2 separate regions of the Homo sapiens genome follow, and region 2 is linked to region 1. The links are contacts of gene promoters, found by promoter capture Hi-C in human tissues and cell types (Jung and others, 2019). All regions are on one chromosome and are shown on one strand. The core of a region is centred on a gene start or on the middle of the fragment in contact, and the rest is flanking DNA. Distances in the headings are between cores, read along the strand shown. Region 1 holds the start of CAP1 (cyclase associated actin cytoskeleton regulatory protein 1). Region 2 overlaps ZMPSTE24 (zinc metallopeptidase STE24).

Region 1 (4,467 bases), core at 504-3,003:
TCTGTCTCTAATCCAGAAAGAGATTTAGAATAACTAAATGCAGAGTCAAAGATTATGTCCAAATAAAGTTAGAGTTTGTGTGTGTGTGAGACAGTGTTTTTAGTTAAATGTCAATATTTAAAATATACTATGACTTTTATACCATATTTTTTCATGTTGTCATGTTCTTTTAAACATGCTGGGAGCCATAAAGTTAGGAAGAGGCCCAGTAACCCGTCCAAAGTAACCTGACCAAAGTCTGACCCCTAGTAGAGGGCCTATGCCAGCACTGGAACCCAGTGTCTCCAGATCCAGAGGCATTCACCACCTCAAATCTGCCTCAAATGTCTGCAGTATGGTCTATCACAGGGGCTAATTAAGCTCATGGGATTTAGAGTCAGACAGATGTGTTTCCTTCAAAGTTTCAACAGTTACTTTCTGACCTTGGCAAGTTATTCAGCTTCCTCATTTGAAAACTAGAGGGCATAATGGTACCTACCACCGAGAGTTGCTATTAGGAGTAAATGAAAATACGCTTGAAGAACTCAGCATGGGCCTGGCAAGTAGTCAGCGTGCAGTAAATGGTAGCTGTTATTTTAAGAACTTTATTTGTTGAATGATTGACTCTGGCACATAACGCCTGCATTCAACTTGAAACACGGAGCTGTCACAGTCGTTCAGCTGAAGGGGCGGGAACTGTGGCACTTGCCAATTTTTTCTAGAAATAAATCTTTGTGGGAGGATAATGACCGGTTGGAGAGTGTGAGTCTTGAGGGAACAAAGATCGGATCTCCCGGCCCAAGGAGTACGGAAGCGAAGCCTCCCCTGCGCGCGGCAGCCACCGTGCGTAACCTCCCCTGAACCGAGTAGCAGCCGCCTGAGCCCACCCAGCCCTGGGCGAGGCTGCCTCAGAAGCCGGATTTCAGCAGAGTGGGTGCAGGATCTGCTTTAATTCTGCTCATCTTATTCTCGGGGACCACACCCTGCGCGCCGGGAGGAAGGGCTCCAAAACCACAGGGCGGAGGCTTCCGCGCGGCCCCAGACTTGACCATCTATGGTCACAGAACACACCGACCAAACAGGAAGTGGGGTGAGAGCGGAGGGTTCCCTACCTTCCCAGCCCCGCGACTGCCAGCCGGGCTGGGGCTGACCCACCGCGCCCTCACTGACCCCCACGCCCTGCGCCCAGTCTCCGCAAGTCCTCCCACAACAATGTCCAGACTAATTGCCTTCCCACGTCACAAACGGGGAAACCGAGGTATGCACGCCCAGAGACAGGCGGAGCGTGGCCTCGATCACCACCGAGAGCTGACGGCCGCCCGGATTCCCGCCCTCAGAGAATCCTGGCCCCCAGTCGTTCCAAGACCCTTTACGGACTGCAGCTTAAAGGAACCGGCCTCTGCCATTGAGACCAAACTGACAGAGGAACTGGTCACTCTTCTGTTCTTTCCAGAGAGGAGCTTAGCCAGGGACTTCTGCCCTTCCTGGGCCCGGGCCTCGGGGGCGATTCCGGGTAGGTAAAGCGGAACGAGGGCGTGGCCTCTCTTGTGAGCCCGCCCTCCCCGTGTCGCTCCCGCCTTGAGGGCGGGGCTCTTTCCCAAGTGCCCTCTGTGAGAGCCGGGCCGCTCTCTCCGGGGCGTGGCGAAGAGGGGCGGAGTCACGAGCGGGGCGGTGAGACTTCCTGCCCAGTCGCGGGCCAGCCTAGCGCTTCAGCCGGCGGCTCATTTCCGGTGGGGGCGCCGCGCCCAGTGAGGGCCCGGAAGTGGGTCGCGCGGAGATTGCTGGGCGGTTCTTGCCGGAAGCGGAGAGCGGCTGATCGCAGTCCGGAGGTGAGGCGGAACTCTGAGGTGAGGGTGTGCAGCTTGGTAGGGATTGGGGTCCCTTCCGGGGCCCATCGGCCCCTGGTGGTGTTAATGGCCCTTCTGGCCTACGCGCGTGTCATGAACCCTGCCGAGAGGGCCGGGGCTGAGGCCCTCAGGCCGACCCGGACTCTTGGGCGCGGTCTCTTGAGGTGGGGCCGGGGTGAGCAGCTGAGTCCGGGTGCCCCGGGGAGGCCCCTCTGCCCGATTTCGCAGCGCTGCCCATCAGCTTCAGCGGAGGCCTGATTCCTGAGGTGCTCTGACTGGAAGGAACCTCCGAGATCGGAGAGTCTTCCCTGTCTCCTGTTGATGCTCCCATTGCACTGATAGGTAAATTGATCCCTAGAGAAGAGGCTAGTCTGAGATATATAGCGAGTGAGGAAAAGAATCGGAATCATGATCCTGGTGCCTTAGATAACCAGCCCCAGTTCTTCCCGTGTTGCTCGGAACCTCTCTAACTTGGGATGGTCTTCCGGTCGGTGTTGCCCCGCAGGCTGCTGCAGGTTAAAGGCCAGCGCTGCGTGGAACTTTTTTTTTTCTCTCCTCCCAAATTGAGCCGTTTGAAATGCCTAGGGAGTTTTTAAAAGAAAGGCGGGCACATCCTTGTATTTACAGGCAGATATCCTCCCTTTCCTCCTCGGCTGCTGCTCTTACTTTGACAAGCCAGGCTAACATTGAAGGTATGTACTTCTGGACCTGAAATCAGACGGCTCAGGTTTGGTCTGGCCTCAGTGCTGAGTGTCTGTGGCCATAGGTGCCTTAAACTTCTTTCAGCCTCCTTTTGTTCATCTTTTAAGTGGAGATCTCTGCTGACCCCACAAGATTAAATTCAGCGTAACAAATTGTGTTTATTCTGTGCCAGCATTTTCCCAGATGCGGGGAATGCAGCTTTAAAACAAAACAATGTAGACCCTGCCCGCGTGGAGCTAGCAGTGTTTGCAGGGATGTTTAAGAAGTAATTATAAATGTTGATGAGTGTTAGGAAAGAACAGGGTGCTCTGAAAGTATGTAACAGGGGGTTCAGGAAAAGCCCTTCTGAAGAAGCAGAGTTTTTAAGATGAATTTTGAAGGATAAATAGGAATGCGTTCGAAGAGTGGAATGAGAACATTTGAGACAGGTTAGCATCAGAACTGTGTCAGTTGAAGCTCTTTGTGGGGCTCTCTCTTCAAGAGAAAATCCGGGGGCATATCAGCACATTTATCATTTACCAGACTTTTATTTAATTTATTTATTTGTATTTTTAGTAGAGATGGGGTTTCGCCGTGAAGGCCAGGCTGCTCTCGAACTCCTAACCTCAGGTGATCCCCCCACCTCGGCCTCCCAAAGTGCTGGGATTACGGGCATGATCCACCGTGCCCGGCCCCACCAGACGTTTATTAAGACCTTAATATGTATGAGGCACATTTTAATGAGATAGCCTTTGTGGCAAAGAATACAGTTCTTCTGGAGTTTACAGTGGGAGAGGAAATAGACAAGTAAATGAGGGATGGCTTACAGTGTCATAGTGCATAGCACAGGGCTACAAGAGCACAGTGGAGAAATACCTGAGCCAGGTGCCCAGGGTTCCAGGAGGAAATGGGAGGCTAACTCTTGAAATATTTATTTAGCTACATAGGGAATCCGGAAAAGGGATTTCCAGGCAGAGACTACTACAGGTGCAAGGACCTGGAGAACCGGACAGCTGAAAGACCATGACGAGTTCAGTGTGACTGGAATTCTAGTAATGGCTGGGGAAGTGGAGGAAGTGAGATGTGGTCAGGTCAGTCATATGTGGAGGACATTGTAAGTCATGCTAAGGAATTTGGATTTTTACCCTGAAAGCTATGGAGATGCTTTGAAGGGTTTTATGCAGGAAAATGATGTCGTCAGATTTATATTTCAGAAAGTTCATTCTGTCAAGTAGGAGGGGACCAGCCCTGTGGGGAAGTAAAACAGTGTTTGGAAGCTCTTGCTGTAGACATGGCCTGAACTAAGACAGTGGAAATGGGAATGGAGAGGAGGCATCAGATGTGAGCAATATTAAGAAGATAGAATCCATAGAATTGGAGGCTGATTATGGGAATGAAGAGGTAAGAATAGCGCGATTGCCTGGCTTTCTGGCTTAGGGAACTGAATGGGTAGTACCATTCAGATAGAGAGTATGAGAGGTAAATTAGGGAAGTGACATGGGAAAAAATGCATTTTGAATGTTTTTAGTTTGAGGTGTTTGTAGCACATCCAGGCAAAGATGTCTAATAAGGTGGGTCAGCTAAAGGAAAGAGCAAGAGTAAAGATACGGAGGCAGGAGAGGGCCTAAATTGTTCAGTGATACTGGGGCCTGGAGTTTTGCAGAAGACCAGACTGCAAAAAAGGTTAGATGTCGGCCAAGTTGTGAAGGGCTTTTTGTTTGTTTGTTTGTTTTGAGACGGAGTCTTGCTCTGTTGCCCAGGCTGGTGTGCAGTGGCACAATCTCGGGTCACTGAAACCTCCACCTCCCAGGTTCAAGGAATTCTCCTGCCTCAGCCTCCTGAGAAACTGGGATTACAGGCGTGCGCCACCACGCCCGGCTAATTTTTGTATTTTTAGTAGAGACGGGATTTTACCATGCTGGCCAGGCTGGTTTCGAACTCCTGACCTCGTGATCCGCCT
Region 2 (4,467 bases), core at 1,026-3,525, 250 kb after region 1:
GCTAAGAAATAATATTGAAGATCTTGAGGTATCTCCATTCAGAAGAATTCTTTCTTGGGATAGATTGTAGAGTTAAGATGAGCTAAATGAATTATATTTTTCTATTATGTATGGTGGGGACACCAGGAAAGAAAAATGGAGGGGCATAGATCATATTCATATAGCATTGTCCACATAAACAAAAATAAATTTGGCAGAGAACTGAGATGTATTATCTTAAAACTCTTTTTTTTTTTTTTTTTTTAAGATGGAGTCTCGCTCTGTCTCCCAGGCTGGAGTGCAGGGGTGTCATCTTGGCTCACTGCAACCTCCGCCTCCCGGGTTCAAGCAATTCTCCTGCCTCAGCCTCCTGAATAGCTGGGACTACAGGCACCCATCACCACGCCCAGCTAATTTTTGTATTTTTACTAGAGACAGGGTTTCACCATGTTGGCCAGGTTGGTCTCGAACTCCTGACCTCAGGTGATCCACCTGCCTCAGCTTCCCAAAAGTGCTGGGATTACAGGTGTGAGGCACCACACCCGGCCTGAGCATGACTTTTGAGTCTCATGTCAGCACTCAAAAGTTTCAGATTTTGGAACATTTCAGATTTCAAGTTTTTGGTTAGGGATGTTTAACTTTTATATGTGTTTCTGGCCTGTTTGCTTGGGGGAGAATAAGGCTCAATTTATAATTTCCTCACCCTAGGTCCCCTAAATATTAGTGATCTTTCTTTTGTCCTGCCATTCCTCTTATCCCAAGCCAAACTTCTCTACAGTCTCAGCTCATGGAACCTTTAGTAACAACAAAGAGGTGGGCAGTGGCTAAAACCCTTTCATTTTCTTTTTCAGGTTCTTTCTTTTTGCCTAACAGTCCTAAGCCGCAGATTTGAGTTTCAAGCTGATGCATTTGCCAAGAAACTTGGGAAGGCTAAAGACTTATATTCTGCTTTAATCAAACTTAACAAAGATAACTTGGGATTCCCTGTTTCTGACTGGTTGTTCTCAATGTGGCATTATTCTCATCCTCCACTGCTAGAGAGACTTCAAGCTTTGAAAACTATGAAGCAACACTGAGATGTCCAGGATCTGTGACTGAAGACATTTCTGATTATTTCTGTCCTGGCAGCATGTTCCAGCTCTTGATGTTTTTAAACTTTTTTTTAGAAGAAAAATTAAGTACAGAAAAGCCCAGATTTAAATACATTTAATATGTCATTTTAAAAATGATTTTAATAATTCATTTCTTAAAACACTGAATGAATTTTGAAGCTTAATGTTTTTAAAGGCATAGTTTTATCTTTGACATCTAATTTACCATCAAGTTGTAAAATTATTTGGAAAAATACAGAACTCGTTTTATTTGTATACTTATATGGAATCTGCATGTGAGGTGTTTGAGGGCATATGTTTGAAAGAGGGAGCATCACCACAGGAATCCTTTCTGTGAGGTGGAAACAGTGGTCCTGAATCATTGTGCTCACACCTAACTTGAAATCTGGTCTTACTTTCATGCTGTTATGATTTCACCTGGTGAATCAGTGTTTTAAATAAGAAAGGTAATAGTTGGTAAGGCCAATGTTATTTAAATGAAAGTAGTTAGAAAAATGCTCTCCTATTCTACCAAATTTTTAATTTCTTTCTTCCCTTTCTTGCTACACAGTGATCAAGAGTTTCTCATAGTGCTTTGAAGTTAGAAATTATGTATAGGATATTTTAAATCATTGAGTTTTGTGGGGTTTTTTTGTTTGTTTGTTTCTTTTGTTTTTTGGAAAATCCGTGTCTTTATCTTTTTTTCCCACGTGGTAGATATGATCCCATTGGAGGTAAATTGTAGCTTCTTCTCATTCATGCAGTAAATAATACATCCTTTCACTCAGCAGAGATGGCCATATTAAACACGTTTTGCTATGTTAAAAGTGGCAGAACAGGAAAGACGAATTAAAAATAACATTTTTTAAGCGACATAAGGATGAAATACTGATGAATCTCTGTGACATTACAGGGAAAAAAATATAGTTTTCTATCTCTTTCAAGGGCAGAAGAGTTTTCATTTTTATTTTTGTAATTTTATCTGTAAGTCATAAATATTACTTAATCAGGCCTGATTCTACTTTTGAAAATTACAGTTCTTGAAATGCAGATAATGTTTACTTTGAAAACAAATGTCATGAATGATTTCCAGTTTTTAAAGCTATATGTTTCACTGCTTCATATCTCTGTCCACTTTCTGAATGAGAACTTATTTTGTGCCTAGAGCTCTCACTCACTGATAATGCTTATTACCTTCTGGGCATTTATTCCAAAGTGGGATCAACTGTACGCCTTTGGTATCTGACCATAAAGTCTTTTGCTCCGCTGACATTTGGGTGATGTCTTCACATGGAAATATAATAAAAATAAAAATCTAGTTTAATACTGCATTATTTATTTTCCTAAGGCTAAAGAGGAGCAGTCCTATGCTTTTATTCAGCATCCTTTATCTGTGACTTCATGCTCTGATAACTGCCTTTCCTTCCTTCTGTGCCTTTGAATACAAATTTCAGTTCTGCAAAAGTGAAACATTAAACATTGCCAACGCAAATGTATGTACTTTGTCTTTAGTTTGATATTTGTGTATCATTTTTTTAATTTGTGTATCATTTGTTACCTGAACATATGTTTATTACCTGAGAGGAACTGGGTGCTAGCAATGAAGAGTGGAATGAAGAAATAGCCCTAATGATGAGTGGTGTCAGTGCCACCACTGTGCTTTACACAGAGTCTCTTCAGTGTCTTGCTCCTGCTTTGCTCCAGAGTATCACCAGTTCTTGCAGATATTTCCTTGGAAGCTTCATTTGGAATCATTCCTTCTCTATTTTTATAACCTCAAATTGTTGGGCCTGCCTGGTCTGCTCCAGCTGCCTCTTTGGTTTTCCTTACATATGGTGGCAGTAATTAGCTTTTAAATATGTGACTGACTTAGTCACCCACACTTTATGGATGGCAGAGGCATAGGGATGGCCAAAAGGATACTGGTAGGTTCCTAAGAAATTGACCAATCAAGGGAAGAGTAGATAGGCCCACCAACGAAGGAATAGATGGCACTCTGCACCCTAAGAAAGACCTGGTGGATGTGCAGCAGGGGCAAAATTGAGTAGGTCAAAGCCTTGGGTAAAATGGCACAACTCCAGCAGAGTTAAGCTCTGAATCTAAGGTTGAATCTCTGTTGTGTGTATATACTGGCTTTATCTGAGTTGGCCCTTTGCTGAGGTCTGAGAACTGCTTGTAAATTCTGCCTCTGTTTAGGATAGGAGAATTCCCAGGATCAGTTCAGTGGTTTTAGTACCAAATGATGGTCCCCGCTTGCCCTTATATTTTATATGCTCACTGTTACCCCTGATCCTACATGTGATATTCCCCTCCCTGTGGAAACCTTCTACTTGCTTTTTTTGTTTTTGTTTTTTTTGAGAAGAAGTTTCTCTCTTGTTGTCCAGGCTGGAGTGCAATGCCCCGATCTCAGCTCACCGCAACCTCCGCCTCCTGGGTTCAAGCGATTCTCCTGCCTCAGCCTCCCAAGTAGCTAGGATTACAGGCTTGCGCCACCACGCCTGGCTAATTTTTTGTATTTTTAGTAGAGATGGGGTTTCACCATGTTGCCCAGGCTGGACTGCAATGGTGCGATCTCGGCTCACTGCAACCTCCACCACCCAGGTTCAAGAGATTCTCCTGCTTCAGCCTCTTGAGTAGCTGGGATTACAGGCATGTGAGCCACCACATCCGGCTAATTTTTGTATTTTTTTCTTTTCTTTCTTTTTTTTTAAGACTCTCTGTCTCTCTGTCACCCAGGATTGAGTGTAGTGGCATGATCTTGGCTCACTGCCACCTCTGCCTCCCAGGTTCAAGTGATTCTCCTGCTTCAGCCTCCCGAGTAACTGAGATTACAGGCATGGGCCAATACACCTGGCTAATTTTTGTATTTTTAATAGAGACGGGGTTTCTCCATGTTGGCCAGGCTGGTCTCAAACTCCTGACCTCAGGGGATCCGCCCACCTTGCCCTCCCAAAGTGCTGGGATTATGGGGTGAGCCACCGTGCCCAGCAAATTTTTGTATTTTTTAGTAGAGATGGGGTTACTCCATGTTAGCCAGGCTGGCCTCAAGCTCCTGACCTTGTGATCTGCCTGCCCTGGCCTCCCAAAATGCTGAGATTACAGGTGTGAGTCACCACTCCTGGCCATGTTCTTATATACTTTCTATATCTTTGATGGTTTTGAGTATTCTGCCATCATTAGCAGAAAGCTAACTACCACTTAAGGGCCTTACGTTCTATCCTAAGGGCAAAACAAAGAAAATTACAGATAATTTGTAATCCAAAACTTTTATCCAGAAACATTTTAAGACCACAGTGATGTGAGCAAGTAACTTGAACGATGTGTGCCAGGCTGAGTTCAGTTTTGTGGGAAGGCAAATATAATCCATTGTGGAATGGGATAGTCCCATTTAGACAAT

The links. The method cuts DNA at HindIII sites, captures the fragments that hold promoters and counts their contacts. A contact is called where the count stands out against the background at its distance.
Region 2: a contact is called between a fragment that was not itself captured here and the fragment with the promoter of CAP1 in region 1, in 2 of the 25 tissues and cell types used here (heart left ventricle and mesendoderm cells).

Annotation. Positions count from the first base shown.
Region 1 is chr1:40,038,976-40,043,442 of GRCh38, forward strand. It overlaps CAP1 (cyclase associated actin cytoskeleton regulatory protein 1), which reads left to right and starts at 1,754. Exons shown (of 13, transcript NM_006367.4): 1 at 1,754-1,826. LOC105378669 (a long non-coding RNA gene) reads right to left here and starts at 1,471. Exons shown (of 3, transcript XR_001738013.3): 1 at 1-1,471. RefSeq lists enhancers at 772-1,405, 1,374-1,443, 1,406-2,040, 1,694-1,893, 1,964-2,053. The HindIII fragment of the contact is 19,514 bases long and covers 1-4,467 here.
Region 2 is chr1:40,291,615-40,296,081 of GRCh38, forward strand. It overlaps ZMPSTE24 (zinc metallopeptidase STE24), which reads left to right. Exons shown (of 10, transcript NM_005857.5): 10 at 831-2,566. The coding sequence ends at 1,055. Among named protein-coding and RNA genes, the nearest start is that of COL9A2, 23 kb to the right of the region's middle. The HindIII fragment of the contact is 5,120 bases long and covers 1-4,467 here.